2 separate regions of the Homo sapiens genome follow, and region 1 is linked to region 2. Evidence: promoter capture Hi-C in 16 types of primary human blood cells and fetal thymus (Javierre and others, 2016). All regions are on one chromosome and are shown on one strand. The core of a region is centred on a gene start or on the middle of the fragment in contact, and the rest is flanking DNA. Distances in the headings are between cores, read along the strand shown. Region 1 overlaps ZNF407 (zinc finger protein 407). Region 2 holds the start of TSHZ1 (teashirt zinc finger homeobox 1).

What was found. The method cuts DNA at HindIII sites, captures the fragments that hold promoters and counts their contacts. A CHiCAGO score of 5 or more calls a contact.
Region 1: a fragment that was not itself captured here is called in contact with the fragment with the promoter of TSHZ1 in region 2 in 8 of 17 cell types (M2 macrophages, M0 macrophages, M1 macrophages and 5 more); the score reaches 14.5 in M2 macrophages.

The regions. Positions count from the first base shown.
Region 1 is chr18:74,649,188-74,654,856 of GRCh38, forward strand. The region is part of intron 3 of ZNF407 (zinc finger protein 407); the gene reads left to right. Among named protein-coding and RNA genes, the nearest start is that of ZNF407, 54 kb to the left of the region's middle. The HindIII fragment of the contact is 4,748 bases long and covers 1-3,703 here.
Region 2 is chr18:75,208,074-75,213,728 of GRCh38, forward strand. It overlaps TSHZ1 (teashirt zinc finger homeobox 1), which reads left to right and starts at 2,724. Exons shown (of 2, transcript NM_001308210.2): 1 at 2,724-3,843. The coding sequence starts at 3,804. PTGR3 (prostaglandin reductase 3) reads right to left here and starts at 1,066. Exons shown (of 2, transcript NM_175907.6): 1 at 777-1,066. The coding sequence starts at 985. RefSeq lists silencers at 540-715, 741-1,780, 3,718-4,037 and enhancers at 571-1,501, 2,541-2,835. The HindIII fragment of the contact is 17,256 bases long and covers 1-5,655 here.

The sequences.
Region 1 (5,669 bases), core at 80-2,579, 560 kb before region 2:
GGTACTATAAGAATATATTGAGCTGGGCTCAAGGGATGGTTGTTTTTGAAGGACCAATAAAGTGTTAATTTGCATCATAATTACGCTGTCACCATTACATGTGTTAATGGGGTACTGGAAAATTCTTATAAAATCTGGCTAAATGTAAGATGGTCTCTAGTCTATTTTAGAAGTGCTGCTGTAAGTGAAATAGGTGAAAGTGGTCTTATGTCAACACATCTGGTAATTATCATTATAATATTAGAAAATAAGTATGATTTTTTACATTGTGGCTAGGGACATTGATAGTCAAATGCTTCACAACATAAATTTGTGCTAGTCTGAAAAATTGGAATGTGTTTAAATATTAAAGACATTTTAGTATTCACCACTAAAATTTATTTTAAAAATAGGGTTTTAGAACTTACACTGTTGCCTGGTCCAATCCATCTAGTGGACAGGTAAAGAAATTTGGGTCAAGAGCTTAAGTGACTTTTCACAAATGGAGACAAGAACCCAGGACTTGTGACTCTCGGGTCAGGGCTGTTTCTATTTTATCCCACTGGCATTCTAATTAGCTTTAATGTAGCTCTTAAACTTTTCAGTCTCACTATTTTTAGCTACCATTCTTTTTAACAAGGGAAATAATGGACACAGGTTTAAGCAGCAAAGTTAATTAATTGATCAACATTCGTCCATTCATTTTCAAACATTTTCTGAGTGCCAAACGTGGGAACTCTAGTTTCAGTAACCAACAGTGGTGAATCTATTATAATTCCTTTTGAGTTTAGATGGTCACTTCTATCAAAGGATAGAATTAACTATTAAGTGATGAAGATACACAAGCAATTTGGGTATTCATTGTGAGGCAACTGTTTTCTCTTTTCCTTAAGATGATAGAACATGGGCAATGTGAATTATATCTAAAATCAGCTGGATTGTCAAAAATAGCATTTCACTTTATTTTGTATTAGGAACAAATAATCGAAAATGTCTTTGTCATAGTCTGTTTGACTAGTGCCCATTGGCAGAATAATTTTATTTCCCCTGCCACCCCTCCCTGCTGTCTCTTAGTTCTTAGCTGAAAAGTTCCTTTTCAGCTAGTATCTGATGGACTATATGGTCTCTGTGCATGGTATCGTTTACAATTGTTGGTGCTTACTTAGTCTGCATCATGTAGCACTCCTGCCTAGTCACTTTAAGGGATGCAAAGACTGACAATTTCTTTGTTTTGAATTGCTGCAGTACTTCAAAAGAAGCCCCATTGAGATTTAGAGACTTGTAAACATTGAGAGAAACGGAGCACCTTTCTGCATCCACAGACAAGTTAGGTTGATGACTGCTGTGTTGGTGTAGTTCAGCAGACATCCTGTTAGTCACTCTTTCTAGGTAGTTTGGTTGACAGGGGTCTGCACTTGGTCATACACTTTAGGGTGGGCTCATGTATGAAACAGGCAAACTCACAGACTTTGCAGGTTCTCTTTGTGAGAGAGACAGAGAACACTTACATAGGGCCTAGGTGGCATTTTTGAAGTATTCATGGAAGGGGTGGGCCACGGGAATATTGTTTGTTACCCCAAAGAACACATTATCTTAAGGTGTAGAAAAAAATTTACTGGCTTTATAGTAATGTCATAACAGTTTCACTGTAATTAAATATTTTTGCACTAATGATTATACTGTGATAGAGAGCATAATAAATTATTGAGAACTACATTTCCATTTCTGTAGTGGAGGGGGCAAGAAATTGCTATATATGTGTGTGTGTGTCTATCTATCTATCTATCTATATATAAATATAATATTTCCCCCCTTAGCTTGGTGGGACTGTAGCTCAAGGGTAAAGATAGAAATTTTGGTGTTTATGTTACAAAATTATTCTTAAACAACCCATTTAAGTCTTTCTGGGTTGTTTTAGTCTTGATGTGTTAGAGAGTGATAATTTTATGCAAGTTATGATTAAAACCCTGTTACTGTCATCCTTAAAGAGCACATTAAAAATACCCTGTTTGGAAAATGACAGTTTTAAAAATAGACAAAATTATATGTTAGTTATGAAGAGCGATGGAATTTATTGAGCCGAAATGTTTTGAAGGAGATTTAAGAATCTTGCACTTTGGGAAGAAGTTAATGACTGATTAACAACAGCAATTAAAAGATGAGGAAAAGGTATATAATTAAAATTGCAGTACTTGCTTTGTCAAGTACGAGTGTCATCTATTGTGTACTTGTTAAAAGCTGAAGAAAAAGAAACCAGCATTTAATTTCAGCCCGGTTTTGAAGAAGAGGCCGATAATTTGCCTGTAGATGCCTGCGTGAAGGTTGTAACTCATGTTTAAGCGAGACTGTGTCATTAGAAGTTCACAGCCATGTATTTTCTGTTGACAGTCATCGACAGAGAATATTTGGCAGTCAGAAGTAATTTAACTTAATTAATGGGATGCATATTTGATGGAGGAATAAAATATTCAGGCTCAGCAAAGTGGAAAAAAGGAAAGATTTAGTGGGAGTAAAAGGTTGAAGAATGTAATTTGTGCATTCATTCTGCTGCTCAGAATTATGAATTGTCTTGCAGAGATATAAAGCCGAGGTGATCCTTAGATGGAAATGTGCTGTCCCTCAACAAAGAGAGCAATCAAGATGACAGTTCATGATTTAATTGATGCCAGAGTGAACTTGCTCTAACAAATAGGGACATCACATTATTTTGAAAACTCTGCTGGAGTAGTTAGTCGTTGGATTGTTAAATATTCATTGTAACTTCAATGTTATAGCATTGCTGTGTCTATACTGAGTACAGACCAGTGAAATCTGTCACAGAGCCCTTAATCTCTCCTGTCAGATTTTAATTGACTTCCTGTAGGTAAAGATGACTTCATGGAAAGTTTGCTCAAGAATTTGATATCATCAAGTAGAGCAGCTTTTCCATTCAAGTACAGTATAGTCCCCCTTTTTTCTACCCTTTTAAAGAGGCTTTTGAAAATATTATTCAGAGCTATAATGTAGGAAATCACTTAAAATTACAGCAGAAAAATATCTAAAGATCAAAGTTAAGTACCTTTTTATAGCGTTGCCAAAATATTCAGCATATTTCTGTTTCCTATCATTATCTAAAACACATTTGATTGTTGGAAGACAGCAGTATGATTATATTTCTAGAAATAAAGGGTTTTAATACTTGCTAGGGTTTTTATTCATCGAGCAATTTCAAAATACATCGTAGCCTTTTCCTGTTTAAACTAAATATAAAATAAAAATATATATCATGGAAACGTTACTGTGGAACTTACGGTATTTTAATCTTTATTATTTGTTTTTGCTTATTACATGAATATTGCTTATATTTTCCCCCCATGCTGAGAACTTAAACTAAGGCAGTTAGATGTAAAAATCATGAAGGACCAGCAGAGGGCAATATTATGTTACTCTAACACTTCTACTGGGGTAAGTTTTGTGATTGAAACAATACAAAAGGTTTTCAGGGGTGGGTGCTATATTTTTCTCCATTAGTTTCATATTACAACTTCCCGAGGTGCTTCCTCCCTTGGTCTGAAAAATCAAAACAAAGAACTATTGGCAAAACTTTCCTAAGTCAGAACCAATGCACATAACACAGTTTAGTTTCTCCTTCGGTAAATTACATTTTCTCAGTTTCAGTCACCTCTCACATATAGGGTATGTTAGGTGTTTATAGCTGATCATTAGTGAGTTTGGAATAAATTTAAGCTTGCATTTCAAATCAGTCATATAAGCTATGACTGGACATGTTCCATAAAAACAAGGGAGGTTATTAGCAAAGCTTGCTAGATGTGGATTGGTTGAAAAACGGAAAATTCTAGAGATTTGAAATTTATTAAACAATTTATATTTGACTCCACACCCTATGTTCTGTATTTAGATTTTGTAGAATTCACTGAACATGGTTTGTGTGATGTGACATTTTGTTGAACCAAATTAAGCCTATCAAGATAGCCATAGATGTCTGTGGTAAGGAAATTGATGTCATTGCAGTTCTCTTGGATATATGGTTTTCCAATCAAAATATCTAGTTGCTATGAAGTTTTCTGTTTGGCTATTGTAGATTATGCTGTTTTAGTTGCAGGGATTTCAAGTTGAATCTCTTTAAAAGTTTATTTAAGCGTCATATTCTCAGTTGTCTATATTTTGAGTAACAAAAGAATATTGTGTCCATTAAACCTGCCATTTGCCAACTGAAGTTAGTAATAGTAACTTAGGTTTAAACACCTAGAAAATGATGGGCCTTTTTATGTCTATGGTTTATAAAATTATAATTTTGTAATCTCAGTATATTATTAATATATATTTGCAGAACTATTGTGAAATATTACTAACCATAAAAGTTGAATCTATTTTTGACTCAGATCTTTAGTATAGGGACAATGGGTTTTTAGCAATTAAATGCTAAATATATTTAACATGTATCGATATGCTTATATTTATTGAATCTTCATATATTGATTCATAGTGATTAGTTTCAATTTCAGTAATGTCTTTTACAAAATAGCGATACTACAAACTAACATGTTGGAAAAAAGCTCATGCTTATACATTATTTAAAGCATCAGTAGATTATCAAAAACTAACGTAATTATGCACACTTAGTGTTTCCTTATGATAACTTATTGAAATGATGTATGCTATTTGAAATAAAATGATGATTTTAGCTATTTTTTAGAAAAAAATGAATTGACATTGTTGGCTTATGTGTTATCATGAACATGCTAATATATTATTCATTGGACTCCTTTTTTTGAGTGAAATTTATGTCCATCGATATAATTTTAATGAGTGCTCAATTACAGACTTTTAAGTATCAATACTTCAAAATATTTAGTTTTACATTAGCAATAACAGACATGAAATCGTTGCATTGACAATCGTAGGTCTTGATAATTCAAGGAATAATTCTGCTGCTGATCATTTCTACTAAAAAAGAGAAATTGGTAGTAGGCATACTATTAGAAATTTGTTATTGAAGGACCATTTGAGGAAGTATAAAATACAGGATAATATTTTAATTTCTTGACATCAAGAATGACCTTATTATTTACCAGTAGGTATAGTTAGTCCTATTAGTCTCCCTCTAATCTGATTAAGGCAGTAAACATGGCAGCACCTCTGGCATTTAAGTAGAATTATTATTTTTAATGGTTTTTCTGACAGAAAAATAAAGGCAATGTTTTGGCCAGACTTTAAACAAATTTCTTTGATTTCATTTCTATGAAAATTCTTTCAGTGCCAAACTGAAAAATATAGTGCAAACACTGTGGTTATACCTCTAGTTTATAATTTGGTAACTAAAGGAACTCACTTGCCAGCTAATTTAACTTAAAACTTTTAGTAATTTTTGAATTTGTGTAGCTACATGATTTAAGAATGTGAGACTTTGGAAAAGTAGGATAAGAGACCAAGAAATTTTCTTAATGATAGAAAACTATAAGTAGAAAATTTATATTAAAAATAACATGTTAAACTACTACATAATATATCTTTACAAATTTGAGATCATGAGGCTGATATAACAAATTAAATTTATCTTATATGTAAGATTGTTCATTTTTCTGGTCTGCTATATTAAGCACAAAGAATACTGGTTTCTTAGAAACATATTAAACATTTGCTTTAACTGTTCATTTCCAGTAGATGGCTATAGTTCACTACCAAATTGA
Region 2 (5,655 bases), core at 1,474-3,973:
GATGAGTGAGGCGGAAACACGACGGTGGGGAGCGCGGGGAATGGAAAAGCCAGAAGGTCTCGCAACAACCCGGTGTCACCTGAATGTCTGCAAAACGTGCCGGCAAAGGCAGCCATGCCCCCACCCCGACCCTGGCCCAGCTGCCCGGGACACGCGCCACGCGGCGGTCGTTAACACTCAGGGGACAGACAACAGTCACACTGCACTGACAGCACGCAGACAACACCGGCGAGGTGCACACCCACACATCCAACGACAGGCTCCGCCACTGCGAGGCGGCTGCCAACCTGGAGGGAACAGGGAAAGCCAGCCGGGTCCCAGCCTCCTTCCTCCGAAGCACGTTTACCTAAACGTCGCAGTTTGCGTCCAGGCTGCTCCCGCTCCACCCTAAAGATTATGTCAACGCAGGAACTGTGGGTGCGCGCGGGCGGCCCGGCGGGGAGCCTCCCCTTCTGGGTCCCGTCGGTTTTATTTCGGGAGCGGGAGGGGGAGGAGGGAGGGCTGGAGGAGGGGAGGGGAATCCCAAATTAAAATAACCCTCAGTTATGAGGACGTTCGGTGGCATCGGATATTCACACCAGCAACAGTCACATCACATTCGCCTTCGCCAGATGGCGGCGGGTTCAACTTCCCGGGATCTCGCAAACTCAGGCTGTGCGCCCGAGCGCGCGCCGGAGTGTGGGCACGCGGGCGGGCTGGGGACTGCGGGAGCGGCGCGGCGCGGCGCGAGCCCGGGGCGAGAACGGGGGCGTGGGGTTGGGGGGCGCCGGGCTCACCGGTTCCGGACGAGGAGGTCTCCGTCCCCGGGGAGCGGCACCGGGCAGTCCCGGCTCAGGGTGACGGCCTCGCGGAAGTTGGGGCTCAGCCGGGTCACCACCAGCTTCTGCATGGCTTGGGGAATGGCGGAGCCCTGGAAGTCCAGGAAGTGGCGGGCGTACGACATGTCCACGATGGCCCGGGCCCCGGTGGGCACCAGCCGCAGCATGGCCTGCGCCTCCGCCCGCTCTCTGCGCCGACGCTGGCCGGGGTCGGCCCCCGCCCGGGCCGCTCGGCTCGGCTGTGCTCTGCTCGGCTAGGGCGGGCGGGTCCGCCCCTCCTCCGGCCGGCGCCCTCCCCCTGGCTCCCCCCTTCCCCGCGTCGCCCGCTCCCGCTCCCCCCGCCTCCCCGGCGCCGGCGCAGCCCCCGCGAACCCGGGCGCACCACCCCGGGTGTCCCGGCCTGGGGACCGCTGCCGCCCCGGCCGCTGCTCCTTTAATCTTTTTGTTTTGGTTTGAATCTGCTCGGCGCAGACTGGCCAAGGATCCTCTCCGCCCTCCCCCTTCCTCCTGGCGCGGGAGAGGCACCGGATATCCCCACCCTCCCCGAGCTCTAAAAGCCGGATTTGACTCCTCTCGGGCAAGGGTGGCGGGGGGGACGGCGGGCAAGGGGGGACGGGGGACTCGCGCGTCCCGCGGTCGTCTGCGGCCCCGAGCCGGCGGCAGCCCCGGGCGTCCCCGGAGCTGCGCGGCGGCCGGCGCAGGCGCCTCCCCTTCCCGTGCGAAGCGTTCACTTCCTTGCAAGGTGGTACGAATCAACCCCGAGCGCGGCCCGGGCGGCGGGGCACGACCGGGGACCCCGGGCAGGGCGGGGAGCCCCTGCCGCCGCTGCCGCACGCGCACCCGTACCGACCGCGGGGCGGGGAAATGTCCAGTGCCTCCCGCTCCCCAGGCTGGTGGCTTCCTGTCCCCGGAACCCCTTGCGCGTGCTTTCTGTCCACGGTCTGTCCCATGCAAGTTGCAGGAACTAAGCCATTTTATTTATTTTGGCCTAGATTTCATGTTTTTCCATGAATGTTTTAAGTAGATCTACAAGACTGTTACAGGTTTCCCATTGGGAGAGAACACACATATAGAAAACCAGAAGGCCAAATTCCCAGAGCACAGACACATTTTAAAGTTCTACGTGGGGATGCCGAGGGACTTAACTGAATTGGAGACGTTGCACTGCTGTGTGAGGACCTCATTTTCGAACCCAGCTAGAAAGATCTGTCGTTCCATCGTGTCCGTTTTCTCCCTACTGGCGTGCATGGACCAAATGTCAATTCACTTTTTATAGAGGGGCCAAATTAAATATTTCCACACTTTTCTGTGATGAACTAAGTCCATCTTTACATTTTTATTTAAATTGTAAAATTTAATTTTAAAAATATCTTGCTTTTCAGTTACCCACGAATTACCAAAATATAAAAGCTACTCTGGGCTCCTCCCCAGCCAAATCTAACCCCCCAACCTGAGATTGCAAAAGCGACACAGATATTTTTCCCCCCAAATGTAGGACATGCTTCACCCAAGGGTAGTTTGGATGCACGTGGTTGCGTGTGTATGAATGTGCAAGTGTGTGTATGTGTATGTGTGTGTGTTGGGGGGGAACTAACAGGTTTAAAAATCTGCAGGAACTAATGTCTACTTAACTTAGAGCATATGGGTTTTACCCGGTATCAGCCAGTGGGTTACAATAACAACACTGAATGAATTCCTCCAATGTACAATCTTTTATGTTATGCTGTATTAAGATTTCTTTTTTTTGTCATATTGTTTAGCTCCGAAAAAAAGAAAACAAAGCAATTAAAAAGATTGACAGGTATGGTTTGTGAGAGACCTATTTGTAATTGTCAGGGTGACGTTGGCGAGAGGAGGAGGAGTAAAAACTGAAGCAGGAAAAGCAGCTCGATGTGTCTGTCTATCAGTTGAGACTGTCTGAAAGCTCTGCGATCCGAATGTGTGTTATATTTCACTGAAAAGAGGAGAGAGCGAGAGTGCATCTCCCTCTCTCCCAGGAGTTTGAGGGGGGGGGGGACAGTCCACGCTCATCTCGCCCACCCAGTGAATGTCTGCTCTTCACCCCCTTTGCACACACTCTCCGGGTTGTTGTTGCCTTTTTTTTTTCTTGGAGGGGGGGGTGCTTTTTGTGTATTTTTCAAATTTTTTTCTGTTGGAAGATCAAGACCGGCCAAAAATCCATGATCAAAATGTGTTTGCATTAGATTTCGCATTGGAAGAAGCGGCGATCCTGGCGGCCAAGCCCCCCGGGTGGAAGCGCGGGGCACCAAGTGGCGCTCCGGCGGGGTGACACTGTTTGATCTGTGACTGTTTGGAAGGTGGAGCAGCGCCTGACATCTCCCCCCGGCGCATGTATGTACGGGGGCTTCACTCCTCTGTCTTGTTTGCTTTCTTCCTCTTAGACTAAGTGCGGGGAGGAAAAGGACAGCCTGCATCGGCCTCGCTGGCGCACAATGAGAAAGCTGCGACCCGCGCACTAAAAACACTCGCCGCGACCCCCAAACAGCGAGGAGAGAGGGGGAGAGAAAGTTGCGCTCGGCGACTCTCGGCTCGCGGAAGAAGGCGCAGGGGAGCGCCCGGAGCGGCGCGCCGGGAGGAGCGCCCGCCCAGCAGCAGCGCGGCGGCGGGGAGGCGGCAGCATGGAGCGCGGGCCGCGGGCCGGCCCGCCGAGCGCCCGCTGCTGCGCCCGCGGCCCGCGCCGGGGATGACTCCGGGCTCGGCGCCCAGGCCCCGCGCGCTCCGCCCGCAGCCCGGCGCCGGGAAGCGGGCCGCGCGGCCGCCGCCGCCGCCTCCTGAGCGGCCCCGGGCGCGGCGGTCCATGCGAGCGGCTCCCCGCGGTCCGCGGCGCGCCCGGAGCCCGGAGCCCGCGGGGACGAGGCCAAAGTTGGGCGCGCCGCGGAGTTGCGCCCGCGCCCGGGGCCCCGCGTCCCCGCGCCCCGCGAACTCCGGCGGCGGCTGAGGCGACGGCTGCGGCGGCCGAGCAGCATGCCGAGGAGGAAGCAGCAGGCCCCCCGGCGCTCGGCAGGTAACGGGCGCGCGGCCCGCGCCGCGGGGAGTGGGCGCCGGGAGGAGCAGGAGGAGGGGGCTTCGCGGGCCGAGGTGCGGGACGTGGGCCGCGGGCCGCCCCAAGCTGGGGAGGGGAGGCCCAGCCTGCGCTGGCCACAGTCGTCTGGAGGCTGCGGTCGCCGTCCTCCCCCACACCCCCAACCTGGGCCGGCGCGTGGAGCAGAGAAAGTTCGCGGTGCTTCTCTGCGCTGCGGGAAGCCCGGATGGCCGGGGGAGGCCGGGGGCCGCGGGACGGCGGGTGCTTCTGGCTACCTCAGGAGGGGGCGTGCGCTGAGGGGAAGTAGTTGCTCCTTGGCTGCCGGAGCGCACTGGAAAAGTCCTCCAAAGGCGGGGAGGCTGAACCTGACACTTGAAAACAAGGTCACCAGGCTGGGACGCAAAGAATGTGTTCAGAAGATTTCTCTGGAAAACAGCAGCCTTTAATGTCCTGTGCAAGAGGCCCCCCGCCCCCACTTTTTTTTTATTACCTCTAAAGATGTCTTTTGATCAGGCCAGCACAAGGCAGTGATAGTGCAGACTCTGATTGAACAGAAAAGTTATTTTTCTCTGGAGGAGGAACTGGCAGGAGCTGGTTTTCCTTGTTTTCTGTTTTATTAGAGGATTGCCATCCTTGATTTGATGTGTGATTGATCGCCTGTCATCTGGCAGCCTTTGATCTATTCATTCCTGATAAACATCAATAAATCACTCACCATGGAAACACACATGCTCCTGACAGCTCCGCCACTATCAGGGCAACTTTTCTCTCTCGCTCCCCCTTTTGCTGCTCCATTTTAATTTTGTCTCAGAAGTTTTACAGCTGCAGCATCCCTTAACTCAGCTCACCTACTAATCCATTGCTAAACCTGGGGTGGGTCAGCTGCCGTGCGTTTTTGAGCACAGGTTTGAAAATAGCCCAGTGATTCTGCTGCCTGCTCAAGTCTTGTCTCAGTTTTGGACATTGCGTTTGTGGGGCTGAGAATGCAACCCATATGCCAGTGAGTTATCGCTAAATAATAGAGTAAATCAACTCTCTCCAAGCTCTTAGGGTAAAAATATTAGAAGGAGTGTTTTATGTTTAAACATGAGCGACTCTTTAGCTGTTGCAGTACAGAATAGAATCTGAATAAGTTTGAGTATCACATTCAGTAATGTGCACGTGTTCAAGTCTTTATACGTGCTTTTTCTGGGGAAGCACTTAAAGCAGAGATTACTGCTACTAAAAAAATTTGGGAATAGTATCTACGTTTATGAATGGTTCAGTAAAATAACCTCATCATTTCCATTAGATCACTGATAGAGATGCTCTCAAAGAGTTGAAGGAGATTACCTTATGCTGAGTATTCACAACATAAAAGGAACAGAATGGAGAATATTTATTTTGGAATAACTTTGAGTAATGGAGGAAGAAACCTTTCAAAGAGAGTATCTATGCCACTGGTAGCCCCCAAATAATATAGCTCAGTGTCTCAAGATATTCGCCACTTGCTCATGCTAGAAACAAGAGGTCTTTACATTTTCACAGTTAGAGGGATTTTTTTTTAAATGACAGAATGTACAATAAAAAGTTGTGTTCAGAAAACTACTCCTGTACTCTTAAGAACTTTTGCAGTTAAAATTGCGGTGAATATTTCCAAGGACAAACAAAATGCTGAGGGAATGAGGTACTGCAACTTTAAATACCACATTTTTTTTTTTTTTAAATAAAAGGTTTGAAAGTTGACAAGGGCATGATGGTGCATGGTAATCCATCCTGGCAGCTCTTACATAAAAACAAGCCGTCAAGGCGACT